2 separate regions of the Homo sapiens genome follow, and region 1 is linked to region 2. Evidence: promoter capture Hi-C in 16 types of primary human blood cells and fetal thymus (Javierre and others, 2016). All regions are on one chromosome and are shown on one strand. The core of a region is centred on a gene start or on the middle of the fragment in contact, and the rest is flanking DNA. Distances in the headings are between cores, read along the strand shown.

The links. The method cuts DNA at HindIII sites, captures the fragments that hold promoters and counts their contacts. A CHiCAGO score of 5 or more calls a contact.
Region 1: a fragment that was not itself captured here is called in contact with the fragment with the promoter of PHF20L1 in region 2 in 1 of 17 cell types (fetal thymus); the score reaches 6.6 in fetal thymus.

Annotation. Positions count from the first base shown.
Region 1 is chr8:133,219,133-133,223,225 of GRCh38, forward strand. CCN4 (cellular communication network factor 4) reads left to right here. Exons shown (of 5, transcript NM_003882.4): 3 at 1,449-1,709. Among named protein-coding and RNA genes, the nearest start is that of CCN4, 30 kb to the left of the region's middle. RefSeq lists an enhancer at 3,606-4,093. The HindIII fragment of the contact is 1,239 bases long and covers 2,078-3,316 here.
Region 2 is chr8:132,773,937-132,777,894 of GRCh38, forward strand. PHF20L1 (PHD finger protein 20 like 1) reads left to right here and starts at 1,452. Exons shown (of 21, transcript NM_016018.5): 1 at 1,452-1,709; 2 at 3,856-3,958. The coding sequence starts at 3,893. It also overlaps a transcript of TMEM71 not described here. RefSeq lists an enhancer at 1,181-1,682 and a silencer at 1,437-1,886. The HindIII fragment of the contact is 4,916 bases long and covers 565-3,958 here.

The sequences.
Region 1 (4,093 bases), core at 1,447-3,946, 450 kb after region 2:
GAGTGTTCTTGCAAAGCATACTTTTCATCATTCATTCAGCAGTTGCTTACTGAGCACCTACTATGTGCTAGGCTCTAACAGCTTTGCACTTCCTCTGAGCCTACAAGGAAGCCTTCTCGGACCTCCTCTCCTTCCCTTTTCCTTCTTGTCTCCCCTCCTCAGACCTCTCCCACAGCCCAGGCTTGCTCCCACCTGTGGTCTTTTTACTTAAGTGGGCCCCTCCCTACCTGGAAAGCTCCTCCCCCAACCCCTGGGCGGGCTTCCTTCCTCACCTCCTTCAGGCTTTGCTGAGCGTCATCACCCAGTGAGGCCTTCCCCATCCACCTGATTTAACCCTATTCCCAGTTGCGCTGAGAATACTCACCAGCAGCACTAGAGGCTGCAGCATTTACCCCAAAATAATTTTGCCACAAAATATCTCACTTTTGTTACTCTATTCACATCATTCTAGAATACCAACTTTGAAAAACAAAAGATATCATTCTATTTACAGCATTGTGTTTTTTTAGGAGTGGTATTTCCATTTACAAAATATAGTAATTCTCGATCACTGAAAATGTCAAATCCTAGAAAACCCAGCATTCCTATGCATAATTGTTCTTCAACAGTTGGCTGGGATTCACTTGATGAATCTGATTTTTCTGAAATAGATTATTCTGATGATTCAGACAATTCTGATGTTAGTTCTGTTTAGAAAGAACTCCAAGAAACAGTTTTTATATTTTATTTTTACATGGAAAATCAGTCAGATTTGCTTTAACCTCAAAAAGTGTGTTTATGTAAAATTAAATGAGCTCTGGCAGCTAGCTGAACATTTTTTTCTAAACAGGGAAAGGGTTATTAATAAATTTGCAACTGTCTCCCCCCGCCCAACTCCCCCTCCCTGCTCCACTTTTCTCCCAGACACTTGTAACTGCCAACATTCCATATGACCTTTCCACAGCATAAGCTCTTTGAGGGCATGTCTTTTGTCTGTTTTGTCCACTATTGAGTCCCCAGCACATAGAAGGCTCCATGAATGTGTATGGAATGAATGGAACACGTGTTTCGAAGTGTTCTGGCTTTTTTTTTACAAGTCGGTCACCTTCAGAACCATGAGCCCTAATGGCAGGTCTTTGTCAGTACCAGGCTTTGTGCCTGGTGCTGGGGACCCTGCAGGGAGCAAACCAGCCAAGTCCCTCGGGAGGCTGCGTCCTTCCACTCCCTGGGTGCTGGCTGAAGCTATAAAGGAACTCCTGCACTCCCTTTGCTGAAGTTCCACCAAACACTCAGCCCTGCCCTGTGCACTCTCACACCTCCCTGCCTTTGCCTTTGTGCCTCTGTTCCTCCTCCATGCTGGGAGCCATCCCCGGGATTGGGGCATGGTCCACATGGAGCCCCTATAAAGGCAGCTGGGCCAGCCAGGGGCACCAAGGCCACTGGGCCTGACCGGCCACCTGTGTTTGCAGAGGTGGTCGGTGTGGGCTGCGTCCTGGATGGGGTGCGCTACAACAACGGCCAGTCCTTCCAGCCTAACTGCAAGTACAACTGCACGTGCATCGACGGCGCGGTGGGCTGCACACCACTGTGCCTCCGAGTGCGCCCCCCGCGTCTCTGGTGCCCCCACCCGCGGCGCGTGAGCATACCTGGCCACTGCTGTGAGCAGTGGGTATGTGAGGACGACGCCAAGAGGCCACGCAAGACCGCACCCCGTGACACAGGAGCCTTCGGTGGGTGTGGGCCCGAGTGGGCTGGGGGTGGGACCCTACAAATGGGTTGTGGACCCTCCTGGAACTCTGACCACCATAGAATGACTCATTCCCCAGTCCACTACCTACTAGCTTTGTGACCTTGAGAAAGTCATACCTCCCCTGAGACCCTATTTCCCCATCTGTAAAACAGAAATAATCCCATCTGTCTAGTCTGTCCTGTGGGATCCTCCCAGCATAAAATGAGGAGTGCTTTGTAAAGAACAAAGCCCTAAAAGTGCAATCCATTATTATCCTACTAAAGAGTTAGGGATGGGTGGTGGAAGAAGGGTAGGTATGTGGGTACCTGAGGAGAGGAGGTATGAGCAAGAGGAGATGGGTCTAGTAGAAGCTTCATGATGATTTGGGGCTTCCCCCTTGCTATGAAGATGGGTGGGCAGGTGAGATTTCAGCCAGGTAAACCAGATAAGAGGAAGCCCTGGAAAAGAAGAGTGGGGACAGGCCCAATTGTTTCACTGCTGCTTACTGGAATCTAGCCCAGTGCCATACACTTAGCAGGTATCCAATTAATGTTTGTCATACTGATGGGTGGGCAGATGGATGGATGAAGAATAGATAGATGGGCGGGTGGATGGATGGATGGATGGATTGGTGAAGAGATGGATGGATAAATAGATGAATGTATAAATAGATGAGTGGATGGATAGATGACGGATGAATAGGTGGATGATGGATGGATGGAAGGATGATGAATGAATGGGTGGATTAATAGATGGATGGATAAATGGATGTATGAATAGATGGGTGGATTGATGAGTGGATAGATGAATTGATGGATAGGTGTATAAATAGATAGATGGGTGAGTAGATGGGTGGATAGATGAATAGACAGATGAATGTATGAATGGATGGATGGATGGATATATGTATAAATAACTAGATGAGTGGACAGGTGGATGGATGAATGGATGGATGGATGAATTGATAAATGGACAGATGGATGAATAGATAGATGGATTTATAAAAAATTGGATGATTGGATGGATAGATGATGGACAAATAGGTGAATGATGGATGGGTCAATTAATGGATGGATGGAGGATGGATGGATGGATGGATGGATAGATGTATAAATAAGTAGACGAGGGGACAGATGGATGGATGAATGGATGGATGGATGGATGAATGGATGAACTGAATGGATGGGTGGATGAATAGGTAGATAGATGTATAAATAAATGGATGATTGGATGGATAGATGACGGACAAATAGGTGAATGATGGATGGATCAATTAATGGATGGATGGATGGAGGATGGATGGATGGATGAATGGGTGGGTAGGTGGATAGATGGATGGGCTAATGAGGATCTGAACTAGGGCAGTGGGAGTAGAGGCAGTGAAGAAGGAACAGACACAAGAGGCATTGCTTGAGTAAGACTGAAGGTCTTAATGTCAATCTAATGCATGGGGTGAAGAAGAAAGAGGGACAGAGGCTGACTCCCAGGGCTTGTCATTGCCTAGGATCAAATACAAGAGAAGGAGCACATTTGGGCCAAGGGAGATCTACTCTGTTTGAAACAGACTGAGTTTAAGGCAGAGTGCCCTGCCCACGGGATCTTAAGAGAAGCTTCCAGTTTCTCTTTATGGGGAGGAAGGAGACGAAATAGGAGAGCTCTGAAGTCATCTGCTTGGAGCTGCTGGTGGTGATGGCTGGGATGGCCTGAGGGTAACATCCACAGTGAGACAGAGGGGGCCTGAGGCAGAGGTCTGGGAATGCTGACATGTGAAGGGTGAGCAGAATAAGAGGAGGCATGGGGAAACAGAGAGGAGGGTTGGGATGTATGAAGAAAACCAGGAGCATCTGATGCCATGGCAGGCAGCAGATGAGGACATTTCTAGAGGAAAGTGCTTACGAGGCAAGCAGTAGAGAGCAGTAGAAAAATGGCAATAGAGTGGGAGTTCTAAGAGTATTGGTAGTTTTTTTAAAAAAAATTATATATGCTAAAGATTGCTCAGGGACGGTGTGGGGCAGGTTTCTCAAGCTCGGCACTGTCAACATCTTGGATGAAGGAATTCTTTGTGGTGGGGTTGTCATGTGCACTGGAGGATGTTTAGTAGCAATCTAATGCATGACTACTAAATCCCAGCAATCTAATCCCTGGCCTCTACCCACTAGATGCCAGAAGCGCCCGCTCCCTCAGAGATGTGACAACCAAAATCATCTCCAGACCTTTCCAAATACACCCTAGGAGACAAAATTGCTCGGTGGAGAAGCAGTCCTGTGAGGATAGGAGGAGGCGTGGAGGAAAGCTTTGTCCCCAGCAGCCCCAGGGCAGCAAGGCAGCTCTCCCACCACCACCTCCCCAGGAGGGCCACACGAGGGTCACGGGGGGAGCAGGGAG
Region 2 (3,958 bases), core at 202-2,701:
TACAACACAGTAGTTGTAGATTATCAGTGAGGCCTTGGTTCATCATAATCTGTCTAGAACCTGGATGGTAGAGCAGCTATCATCTCAAGCAGTGCTTTACACTGTGCCAGAGACAGAAACTTTGGTGAGCTGGCATTAAAAATTACCAACTGGCCATGACAAATCTCACTTCTAATTACATTTTATCAGCCAAAGCAAATCAAATAGCCATACATAATTCTAAGGAGGGTGGAAAGTATAATCCTGTCATGTCCTAAGGAAGATGCTACAAGTATTTGGTGTTCTGAACTAATGCAACCATGATGAGAAATTTCTCAAACATGGAAAGAGAGTTGAGATGCTGGGCAACCAAAAAACAAGATAACAAATATCCACTAGAGACTGTCTTATTTATATCTTTTCTATAACAAATATCCACTAGAGACTGTCTTATTTATATCTTTTCTATGTATCACCATGCTCAGTCTAGCTCAGTAGCTATTAGTGACTTAGTAGATGCTGAATGAATGTTTGTTGAATAAAAAAAGAATGATTGTTTAATTTACCAAATCTTACTATAACTGAAGCTTAAAGAGAGTTACTTTGCTATTTTAACTCCACACTATGAAGCAAGATAAATATAAGTGACATTTGTATGCAACGTTGCACTTGAAAACCAGAGTGGTACAGTGGAAACCAAGAGAAAAAAGATGTTTCATTTCAATATTATTTTCAATGTGTTCACTTATTGGTTTCTCCCCACAGCAAGGATACTGTCTCCTGTGCTTAGTAAAGTTTGGGAGGGTAGGTATTCGATAAAAGCAGTTCTGCTATCATTAGCTGTGTAGTCTTGGGGAAGTGATATCAATGTAGCCATAGGTTAAGGTTATTCAGCTGTGCCTGAGCACGCGCGTACACACATCTTAGTAATATTCGTCTTTGTATTGTAAAGATCTCCAAGACTGGAAAGCAATACAATTGTAATACAGTTGTACAGTTGTGATTGTCATGTGACATATTTACAGCCTAGTGTCTATCACAAAGCATCCATTCAAGGGAGGTTTATTGATTTTGTAGTAGTAACCATGCTCTATTCTTGATGTGGAGTGGGATGGATATCTAAGAAAGCATGTAATGCATTTGAAAAAGTTTGCCAAGGGTCCTGGGTAAAGGGGTTTTGGTGACGTGGTTCCCAACGAATCAAGAATAATAAACAATGCCCTTCGTCCTCAAATCTCAAAGGTCAAATACTTCACAACTACCAATAGGCACCAAGAGCTCGCGTTCTTTCCTCCAGTAACCAGAGCCCCGCCCGCTAGCGGTCCGTCAACGACCGCAAAGCCCCGCCTCCTACGGCGGCCCGCCAATCGGCTGCGCGGCCCGGGCCCAACCCTCGTGAGTCACGTGACAAGGCCAGGCCCGCTTCCGGCACGTCGCGGGCGGCTGACGTCGCCGGGGCCCGGCGTCGCGTCAGGGCTGGCCGGCGGCGGAGGCGGCGGCGGCGGCGGCGATGGCAGCGGACCCTGAGCGAGCTTGAGGGCTCGGACCCAGCTCCCTCCCGCGAAACCTTGGGCGGATCCGGCGCTGCGGCCCCAGCTCGCTCCGCTCCTGCTCCCTCCCCGGCCGCTGCCTGGGCGGAGGCAGAGGCAGAGGCCCGGGCTGGCCGCCCTGCTCGTGCCCCAGCTCGGCCCCGGACGGCCCGGCTGCTGTGCAGAGAGGAGGCCGAGTCGGTAAGAGGCGGCGGCGGCTGAGCCGGCAGGCCGCCTGGCCCCCGCCGGGCCGCCCGGGACGCCCCCATTCTGGTGTCTCTCTTTCCGGCCCGCTCCCCTCCCGCCTCCCTCCCCGTAACTCGCCGGCCCTATTGTCTGGGCGCCGCAGCTCCCTCTTCCCCTCCCTTCCTTACCCCCCTGCGGAGGGCCGGATGGCTGTCAAACCTGGAGGCTTCTCCAGCTCCCTGCCAGCCCTGTCAGCCTTTCCTGCCTGTCTCGTGCCACCCCCTCTCTGTCTGGCCTCACCTCCTCACCTTTTTTGGCCTGGCGGTCATTCTCTGACCATTGCTTTACATTGTCGGTCTCTATGTCTTCTTGCTCATTTCTTCTTCCCTCTAACTTGTCATCTCCGAAAACTTCCACTGTCCTATTTCTTGCCATTCTTTGCTCCTTTCCTTACTGTTTTTACTCCTCTCCGTGCTTTCTGCCTTGTTTTTGCTTCAAGTTTTACTCCCAGTAGACTGTCTTACTTTATGAAAGTTCCTTAATTCAAATCCCTCTTCATCCTTCCCTCTTCGAACCTAAGACAAAGGAAAATCTTGTTTTTTTTCTGGTACTTCATCCCTAAGTGTCACTGGGGGATTATACTCATTCAATCCATCACTTAATTATGGGCTCTAAGTTTGATTCTAGATGTTAGTGTACCTTGTGAACTATCCCTTACTGAATTCTTCCTGTGACAGACAGCAGAAAAGGTTGATTCGATTTCTACACAAACATTTAAGTAACTGCCTTACGTGTTGCGCACTGACAAGACCTCTATTAAAAATATTCATACATTTGTTCTTTTGCACCAGCTACACCCTGGGCAAGCTCCCTGTTAACTTTTTAATGCTCTAATATTTGCTTATACCATAGCAGGAGGATACCCACTCTCCCCCTCCAACCATGGGTATTTGAGTTCGCATATTTTCATGGCCAGTATTGATGCTATTTTTTCCCTTACCTATCAGACTCTTTCAAAGAGAAAAGAGGGAGCAGTTGGAATTTTATGTTTGTTGTTCTATTTTGTCTATTATGAATTGTGACAAAACCATTATAAAAGATGACAAGTGTGTGTGTTTCTTTTTTTCTTTTTAAACTGTAGGGAACATAGTCATTAGTGATCTCAAATACCGAAAGACATTTTACGGATCTCTCCTCGCCCCTGATAACAATCAATTTACATTCTTAATTATGAGTTATGTTTTGATTAGGTTATCTCAAAATGTATTCATATTCCTCACATACCCATTAGTGAAAAAGAGGCCACCTCAAGTGTGCTCGGTGGCCACTGTGGCCCAAAATATAGTACTTTGCATGTGAATGACCTAGGGATACATAGGTACTCCTTTGCAGTTTTTGTTCTAGCATTACAACCACTTTTATTATCAATGTGGACACTGTCTAAATTGAAATATAGTAGAAATACTCAGTTAACAAAAGCATGTTATTATTGCTTGTTGAATGTAAAGTATAAGAAAGCAGTCTCTTTTGTAATACTGTATGTTAAATTAAAATTATTGAATTATGTGCTACCAAGGTGGGAGATCATGGGTAATGAAAAATCCTAATCCCAAGAGGAATTAGTGGTATCTTCACTGGCAGAGGAGTGTGCCTACTGTTTCCTCCATCTTTGTGTGCTGTAGGGCCTTATCTAGTGTTTTGTATTATGAGGCACTCAACAAATATTTGTTGAAATTAAAAATTGATTTTGTTCTCAAGAATTTCAGTAGTCCTATTCCAGAACACTCAGCTGTCTTAATTTTTCAAAGGCAGGAAAGCATTTTCAGCTCTCCCCGTGGAGAATTTTCTTGGGTATCTGGAAGCTCAAATGTAAAGCATTTTTAGCTATTAACAATTTTTAACAGTCCATTTACTCATTCTTTTTAGATAGTTTTCTTTGTTCTTTTTCTTAAATCATTATCAAGATTGCCTGCAGATTGCACAGAACTTTATATAGAGATGTTGGTAATACTCCTTCAAATTTCTTAACAATTTGGCAAGTATTTCATATTCTCATGTATTGTTTTAGAAATTCTGTTTAATTTTAATTTGACCTGTTCCCTTATACTCTACTTCCTATGCATTTTCTGCATTGGAATCTAACTTTTTTCTTTCTCTTGAGGTAGTGAAAAGAGAATACTGAAGAATAGGATCTCAAGATGAGTAAAAAGCCCCCAAATCGCCCTGGAATCACTTTTGAGATTGGTGCTCGTTTGGAGGCACTG